2 separate regions of the Homo sapiens genome follow, and region 1 is linked to region 2. Evidence: promoter capture Hi-C in human tissues and cell types (Jung and others, 2019). All regions are on one chromosome and are shown on one strand. The core of a region is centred on a gene start or on the middle of the fragment in contact, and the rest is flanking DNA. Distances in the headings are between cores, read along the strand shown.

Region 1 (4,521 bases), core at 1,911-4,410, 200 kb before region 2:
TCGCCTCTGTTACTGTTCATGATTTCAGTTGTTATTTAATACGTCGTGTGTCACAAAAACAACCAGAATTCATTGTGTGTTGTTTTTATAATGAACTCTCATCAGATCTTTCATTATTTTCAGGTTCTTTTTTTTTTTTTTTTTTTGAGATGGAGACTCGCTCTGTCGCCCAGGCTGGAGTGCAGAGGCACGATCTCGGCTCACTGCAACCTTCACCTCCTGGGTTCAAGCGATTCTCCTGCCTCAGCCTCCCGAGTAGCTGGGACTACAGGCGCCCGTCACCACGCCCGGCTATTTTTTGTATTTTTAGTAGAGACAGGGTTTCACCATGTTGGCCAGGCTGGTCTTGAACTGCTGACCTTAGGTGATCCACCCGCCTCGGCCTCCCAAAGTGCTGGTATTACAGGCGTGAGCCACCGTGCCTGGCCCATAATTTTTTTTATTTTTATGTATTTGTTTATTTTGAGACAGAGACTCACTCTGTTGCCAAGGCTGGAGGGCAGTGGCACGATCTCAGCTCACTGCAACCTACACCTCCTGGGTTCAAACACTTCTCCTGCCTCAGCTTCCTAAGTAGATGGGACTGCAGGCGCATGTCACCACGTCTGGCTAAATTTTGCATTTTTAGTAGAGATGGGGTTTCACCACGTTGCCCAGGCTGGTTTCAAACTCCCGACTTCAAGTGATCCGCCCACCTCGGCCTCCCAAAGTGCTGGGATCACAGGCATGAGCCACCGTGCCTGGATAACTGTACTTATATTTTTATAGAAGCTTTATTGAGACAATTCACACACCATAAAATCCATCCCTTTAGTGTGCACAATTGAATGTTTTTAGAATATTCAGAGTCGCACAGCCATCACTACTATTTAATTCCAGATTTTTAATTTAAAAATTTTCATTGCCCTCGCAGGGCACAGGGGCTCACGCCTGTAATCCCAGCACTTTGGTGTTGTAACCAAGCGAGTTATAGAGAAACACCACACTTTGAGACAAATTAAGGAGTCCTTTATTAGCCTGCGACCGAGAGGCCGCTAATGCTCAAAATTCTCTCGGCCCTGAGGAAGGGGCTAGCTTTGTTTGTATACCGTGGTCTAAATGGGGGGGGGGAGTTTAACTGAAGCAATTTTTATAGAAGCAGAACTGGCAAAAAGTTAAAAAATTAATTGGTTACAAATGCAGTTACAAAAAATAAACAGCTCCAGGTGCAGGGGCTTAAACTATCACAAAGAGATAAATGCAGGGGCTTCGGGTGCCATCCACCGAGCGCGTCCCGAGGAGCTGCTGGTGCAGCTTGCCTCAGTATCTTATCAGTAGGTGCATTCCCAGACGTGCTTTGAGTCAGTCACACTAGTTAAGCCTTAAGGGAGGGAGGTGAAGGGGGCTGCAGGTGAAGAAACTAAAATGGAGTCTGTCCGGCGCTCTCTCTGCTACGAGAAGGTCACTTAGGTTAAAACAAGGTTGGGTATCACACTGGGAGGCCGAGGCGGGCGGATCACGAGGTCAGGAGATCGAGACCATCCTGGCTAACACGGTGAAACCCCGTCTCTACTAAAAAAGAAATACAAAAAATTAGCCGGGCGTGGTGGCGGGCGCCTGTAGTCCCAGCTACTCGGGAGGCTGAGGCAGGAGAATGGCGTGAAGCCAGGAGGTGGAGGTTGCAGCGAGCTGAGATCGCGCCACTGCACTCCAGCCTGGGCGACAGAGCAAGACTCTGTCTCAAAAAAAAAAAAAAAAAAGTCATTGCCCCAAATAGAAACCCATTCCCATTAGCACCCACTCCCCACTTTCCTTCACAGCCTCAACAACCATGAATCCACCTTCTGTGTCTATGGAGTCACTTATTCTGGACATTTCATATAAGTGGAATCACACGACATGTGGTCTTTTGAGTCTAGCTTCTTTCTTTCTTTTCTGAGACAGGCTCCCACTCTGCGGCCCAGGCTGAAGTGCAATGGCGTGATCGCAGCTCACTGTAACCTCAGTCTCCCAGGCTCAGGCGCTCCTCCTGCCTCAGCCTCACAGCAGAGACCACAGGTGCGCACCACCACACCCGACTATCTGGCTTCTGCCACTTAGCGAAATGTTTCTGAGGTTCTTCATGTTATAGCACGTGTCAGCACGTCACTCTTCTTCATGGCTGAGTAATACTCCACTGCGTGAAGAGACACATTTATCTGTCCCCGTGTTGGGCATCTGCACTCTTCCCACATTTTGGCTATACTAAATTGTCCTGCTACGAACACCTGTGTAGTTTCTGTGTAAAGGTACAGTACCTATATGTTGGGGTGATCAGACCCAACCCCAGGTCGTGGGGGTGACAAAGTCCGGCGGAGTCAAAGGATTCAGAAAAACACAGAGAGAGAAAGGTGGCACACCAGGGGGCCATCGCTATTGTGGAGGCTGCAAAAGCCCGAGCTCTGGGAGCCCACGGTATTTATTGGTAATGCAACAAAGAAACAGATGGTGAGAATATGGAGGTCAAAAGACCACGTTGCATTAAGCACATGATTACAGCTGTGCCGGTTTAGCATTTATATGGAGCATGTTCTGCTACTTGAGATAATGGGAATAGGGGCCTAGGAGGGCTAGAAGGAAGGAGCCAGCAAGTCTAGACACATTCCAAAGGACATCATGCAAGCCCTGCCTCAGTTTCCCTCCCAACACCTATATGTCTTGTTGGTATACATGTTGTATTTTCACAACGAAAATGCATGAGAAAAAGGACACAGATGGCTTATGTGTACTGATGTGTAGCATTCTCTAAGATCTGACATCACAGAGCTGGACAGCACAGCTGTGCACGCACCCCCCTGGCTGGGAGGTGGCACATCCACACATGAGGGAAAAACACTGCCAGGACATCTCAGGGCACTCTCAGGAAATGAGGAAGCTGCTGGAGAAGTTTCTAGCCTTGGGGGAGGTCAGGACGCAGAGCCATCTCCTGGAGCAAAGTTCCCTCCTCCTCTCTCCCTCCTCCTCTCTCCCTCCTGCAGCCCTTCCTTCCGACCCCTGGCCCTTTCTCTCCAACCTTCCCCTCCCCTCCTCCATTTCCCTCCTCTTTCTACTTTCAGAGAACACAGGGTTCCTGCAGGAAATGGGGCAGTTTCACCTTCCTGAGGAGGGGCCTGGGAGGGGCAGCAGGTGGCCGGGTAGGGCCAGCCCAGCTGTGAGCCTGGCGTGGGAGCTGCCTAGGCCGGGCCCTGCCAGGGAGCAAGTCTGCATCGCAGAGGCCAGGGTGAGTGGGCTGGGGAGTCGGTGCGCCAGGGTACTGGGGTGCCCACCTGGGGTGGTGCAGGCCCGGGGACCCCAGGGCACCACTGTGGGTGGAAGCTGGGACCAGGCGTGCGGGGCAGGGGACGCGGCGGCTTCCTGGGATTCTAGGAGGCTGAGGCCAGGTGTGTGCGGCAGGGGACGGGGCGGCTTCCTGGGATTCTAGGAGGCTGGGACCAGGTGTGTGGGGCAGGGGACGAGGCAGCTTCCTGGGATTCTAGGAGGCTGGCACCAGGTGTGTGGGGCAGGGGACGCGGCTGCTTCCTGGGATTCTAGGAAACTGGGGCCAGGTGTGTGGGGCAGGGGACGCGGCTGCTTCCTGGGATTCTAGGAAACTGGGGCCAGGTGTGTGGGGCAGGGGACGCGGCGGCTTCCTGGGACTCAAGGAGGTGGGAGAGCTGCTCTCAGACCCGCCGCTGTCCTCCCACTGGCCCTCCCCGTGGTCCCTAGGATGAGGTCTGGACCCGCCAGGCCCTCCAGAGGCCCCACAACCCCGCTTGTCCACTGTGCCGGCTGTTCCTTCCTTGTGGCGCCCAGTGCGGTCCTAGGCACCCTTGGGACTCAGCTCACGTACCCCTTCCTCCAGGAAGAGTTCTCAGAGGCTGTGTGAGGAGCGCCGAGTCCCCGGACTTACTCTCTGTTCTGGAATTCTCTGCGCAGTCATCTGCCTTCCCGCCCAGCTAAGAGCAGGGCCTGTTGTCCGGCCCCACAATTTCCTTCCAGGTGGAAAGGATTTGCTGAATGAAAATCAAAGCTGTGGCCGGGCGCGGTGGCTCACGCCTGTAATCCCCACACTGTGGGAGGCCGAGGTGGGCAGATCATGAGGTCAGGAGATCGAGACCATCCTGGCTAACACGGTGAAACCCCGTCTCTAATAAAAAATACAAAAAATTAGCCGGGCGTGGTGGCGGGCGCCTGTAGTCCCAGCTACTCGGGAGGCTGAAGCAGGAGAATGGCGTGAACCCGGGAGGCGGAGGTTGCGGTGAGCTGAGATCGTGCCACTGCACTCCAGCCTGAGTGACAGAGCGAGACTCCGTATCCAAAAAAATAAAAGAAAAATCTTCTCCCCGGGTAGGGTGCGGGGAGCTTCAGGGTTATCACAGGACATGCTAGAGAGAAAGCCTTGGGCACAGGCGGAAGTTGGAGTCTGGAGCTGCGGCTGGGCTAGCGAAGGGCAGAACCTACTTCGGCCAATGGCTCTTACACAGCCAAGCTATTTTCATGGTGAGGGTCTAGTAGCCTCCACAT
Region 2 (3,986 bases), core at 458-2,957:
CAAAAAAAATAAATGAAAATAAAAAATAAAAATAAAAAAAATTCAAGATCTGTGCATAAACACAACCTGTGTGTAAGTAATGCTTCCCTACTGGGCTATTTTCCTTTTTTTCTTTTTTGAGAGGGAGTCTCACTGTCGTCCAGGCTGGAGTGCAATGGCGGGATCTCACTCACGGCGACCTCCACCTCCCAGGTTCAAGCGATTCTCCTGCCTCAGCCTCCTGAGCAGCTGGGATTACAGACACCTGCTACCATACCCGGCTAATTTTTGTATTTTAAGTAGTGACGGGGTTTCACCATGTTGGTCAGGCTGGTCTCGAACTCCTAACCTCAAGTGATCTACCCACTTCGGCCTCCCAAAGGGCTAGGATTACAGGCGTGAGCCACCACGCCCGGCTTTTTTTTTTTTTTTTTTTTTTTTTTTTTTTGTGAGACAGTCTCACTCTGTAATCCAGACTGGATTGCAAGGGGCGTGATCTCGGCTCACTGCAATTTCTGCCTCCCGGGTCCAGGTTCAAGCAATTCTCCTGCCTCAGGCTCCCGAGTAGCTGGGATTAAAGGCGTGCGCCACCACACCCAGCTAATTTTTGTATTTTCAGTAGAGACCGGGTTTCACTATGTTGGCCAGGCTGGTCTCGAACTCCTGACCCTGAGTGATCCACCCGCCTTGGCCTCCCCAAAAGCTGGGATTACAGCCCTGAGCCACGGCGCCCGGCCTGTTTTTTTGTTGTTGTTGTTTTGTTTTTAATAAAAGAGGCGGGGTCTCACCCCGTTGCCCAGGTTGGTCCAGAACTCCCGGGCTCAGGCGACCCTCCCCTCTGCGGGCCAGGCCACCGCGCCCGCCGCCTCGGGTGTTTTCTTAGGAAAGCTGTGCGGTGGCTGGACTCAAAAACCCCGAACCTAAATCTGCCCGCAGACGGACACCAGCTTCCTCTTACCTCAAGCAAAAGGGCATTCAGGTCCTGATGGCTTCGCAGGAGGCGCACAGCTGATTCCTTTAATTTCTGTGCCCTTTCAGGATTATATTTTTCCCTCTTGACCCTTCCCGCTACGGAGAGAAGTCGGTTCGAAACCATCACAGCACAATTCACACACGGGGTCCCCGGCCCGACGCGCAGGTGGACGCCGCGGAGAAACCCACCAGCGACACCCTCCCGAAGAGGGGCCGGGGCTCCTCCCCAGGGCGCAGGTCTCGGGAAACTAACGGAGACGGCCCCACCGCGGACGCCGGGGAAGACGGCCCAGGAGGGCCCGAGGCAGGGGAGCCCGGGGACGGCTGGCGAGGGGCGGCCTCTGCGCTGAGGGGAGCCCCAGGCCGCGCACCCCAGGCCCGCCTGACAGGGCGGCCGGCGGGGGCGGCGTTCGGGAAAGAAGGGAGCGCCCCGCGGGCGGCGGCTGGGGGCGTCCGCCCAGGCGCAGGAGGGGCCGGGTCCGAGGCAGCCGCGCCGCCCCAGCCGGGCGCCCACCCCGCACAGCCCCCCGGGCGCGGCGTCCGGGGATCCGACCGGCGGAGGCTCTGGCGGGAAGGGATCGGGGAACCGGCGAAACCGTCCCGGGCCGGACGCCGCCCACTCCCGCGGCCTGCCGCGCCCACCTACCCAGCAGCTCGGCCCAGGCCCTCCGGCGGCCCCCTGGGTCCTGGCCCGAGGCGGAGTTCGGGACCCACGAGTCGGACATGGCCTTGGCGCCTACAGCCCCGGCGGCGGCTCCCTGCGCCCGAGCCCGCGCTGCCTTCCTATTGGCTGCGGCCAGGCGCGCACACCCGTTGGCTGGCGGCGGCCAGGCCACGCCCCTCAGGTCGAGGCCTTGCGTCGTGGCCATGTTGGTCCTGGGGGAGGCGCCTGCGCGCGGTGAGGTAGTTTTTGCGTTTGGCTTTGCCGCCGCGGTGTAGTCCGCGGGGGCGTCTCGCGCGGGCAGACTGCCGCCCCTCAAGCGTGGTTCCTGCCGGGAATGACTGGGGTTGGTCCTGAAGAGACCACCTGGCCAACCAAGCCGAGGCAGGCTCAGAGCGCCGCGGGGAGCGCAAAGCCGCGCGCGCCTCTGAGCTCCGGGCAGCCGCTGTTCCTCCCGGCGGCCGAACGGTCCGCGCGCAGGGCGGTGTTTCGGCAGCCGGAGACCGCGCGGTAGCCGCGCCTGTATTCCCAGCGCTTTGGGAGGCCGAGGCTGGAGGGTCGCTTGAGCCCAGGAATTCCAGACTAGCCTGGGCAACAGAGCGAGACCCCATCACTTTTGTTTCTTTTCTTTTTTTTTTTTTTCCTTTTTTTGAGACGGAGTCTCCCTCTGTCGCCCAGGCTGGAGTGCAGTGGCGCGATCTCGGCTCACTGCAACGTCTGCCTCCTGGGTTCAGGTGATTCTCCTGCCTCAGCCTCCCGAGTAGCTGGGATTGCAGGTGCGCGCCACCACGCCTGGATGATTTTTGTTATTTTTAGTAGAGACAGCGTTTCGCCATGTTGGCCCAGGCTAGTCTCGAACTCCGGACCTCAGGTGATCCGCCCGCCTCGGCCTCCCAAAGTGCTGGGATTACAGGCGTGAGCCACCGCACCCGGCTGAGACCCTATCTTTTAACCAGCCTGGGCGGCAGAGCGAGACTCTGTCTCAAAACAAAACCAAACATAAGAATTCGTAAAAGCGAGTGCCTAGGCGAAGCTAATGTGCCTCAAAGTCCTGGGTAAGTAGAGGCCCTGGAGACCCGTCCGCATCCTCTGGCAGTGGCCTTGGAACCACCGAAGGGATTCAGCCGAAGGGCCGCGTTCCCGGCAGGCGTCTTTATTGTGTTGATTACGTAGATGGCGTAGATGACGTAGATGACGTTCAGCACCACAAACGAAGAGCCGAGGCACAGAGTGGGGCCTTGGATTCATGAGATGGGGATGGAGCAGAAATGAGAATTCGGAGTCCATGAAACCCCCACAAAGACTCCTGCACGGCCCGACTCGGACACTTTGCAATCTGCTGGTTGAGGGGGATGGTGTGAACTCAGGGAACAGCCTGAGATCGCGCCGCTGCACTCCAGCCTGGGCAACAGAGCAAGACCCTGTTTCAAAAACAAAAAATAACACTAAGCAATTAACAGGACTAGACTCAGAGGTGATCGAGAAATTGAAACAGGCTGGAAATTTAAATTAACTGTGATTAATATGTGGAGGTCTCTTGTACGAAAGGTGAACAATATGCATGAGGAGGAAACTCATCAAATTATAAGAAAGGAAGAACGCTGATAACAGGTAATTTTTCTGATGGGGCAGCAGTAGGATCAACACAGCTGAGAAAAATAGGAATTACCCACGTTGGAAAATAAAGAAGAAAAAAAGTTTTTTTTTAAAAAAAGCATCCAAGAACTGTGGGAAAATATCAAATGATATCATATGCATGTAATAGGACTCCCAAAAGAAGAAGAAAGAACAAATCATAAAAAATGTTTGAAGAGAAAATTACCAATAATTTTCCCAAAATAATGAAAGACCTGAGCTCAGAGCACACACAAAACTTGATAAATATGAGCCCCTGCCTGACACATGCAGTGTATTCAAACTGTGGAAATCAGAGAGAAAACCATGAAGATGGCCGGAGGAAAAAGATACGTTAAATACAGTAACAAAGGTAAGAATTCCAGCCTGGGCAATATGGCAAGACCTCGTCTCTACAAAAAATACAAAATTTTTTTTTTGTATTTTTTGTATTGCCCAGTGTGGTGACACGAGCCTGTAGTCCTGTGGGCGGAGAATTACCCAGGTGCCGAGGCAAGAGACCGAAGGCACAAACTATTTCAGTATAATAAAATCGTTACAATAAGAACAGTCATAATACAAATTATGGAGATGATCATGGACAATTATCAATTATTATAAACATTAATCATTAGCTTTTAATATTACTGTTTGTTGCATTACTAATATAACCTAGGAATAACCGGTGGGTATAGGGTCAGGTGCTGAAAGGACATTGTGAGAAGTGAGTGGAAGGCAAGAGGTGAACCTTCTGTCATGC

Evidence for each region. Contacts are between HindIII fragments. The study calls those that stand out against the background at their distance.
Region 1: the fragment with the promoter of DPEP1 here is called in contact with the fragment with the promoter of FANCA in region 2 in 2 of the 25 tissues and cell types used here (aorta and bladder).

What each region holds. Positions count from the first base shown.
Region 1 is chr16:89,610,482-89,615,002 of GRCh38, forward strand. It overlaps DPEP1 (dipeptidase 1), which reads left to right and starts at 3,161. Exons shown (of 11, transcript NM_001389466.1): 1 at 3,161-3,238. RefSeq lists a silencer at 2,761-2,919 and an enhancer at 4,325-4,521. The HindIII fragment of the contact is 39,869 bases long and covers 1-4,521 here.
Region 2 is chr16:89,814,940-89,818,925 of GRCh38, forward strand. It overlaps FANCA (FA complementation group A), which reads right to left and starts at 1,708. Exons shown (of 43, transcript NM_000135.4): 1 at 1,598-1,708; 2 at 938-1,047. The coding sequence starts at 1,676. RefSeq lists silencers at 1,212-1,261, 1,492-1,781 and enhancers at 1,642-1,936, 2,322-2,371. The HindIII fragment of the contact is 15,845 bases long and covers 1-3,986 here.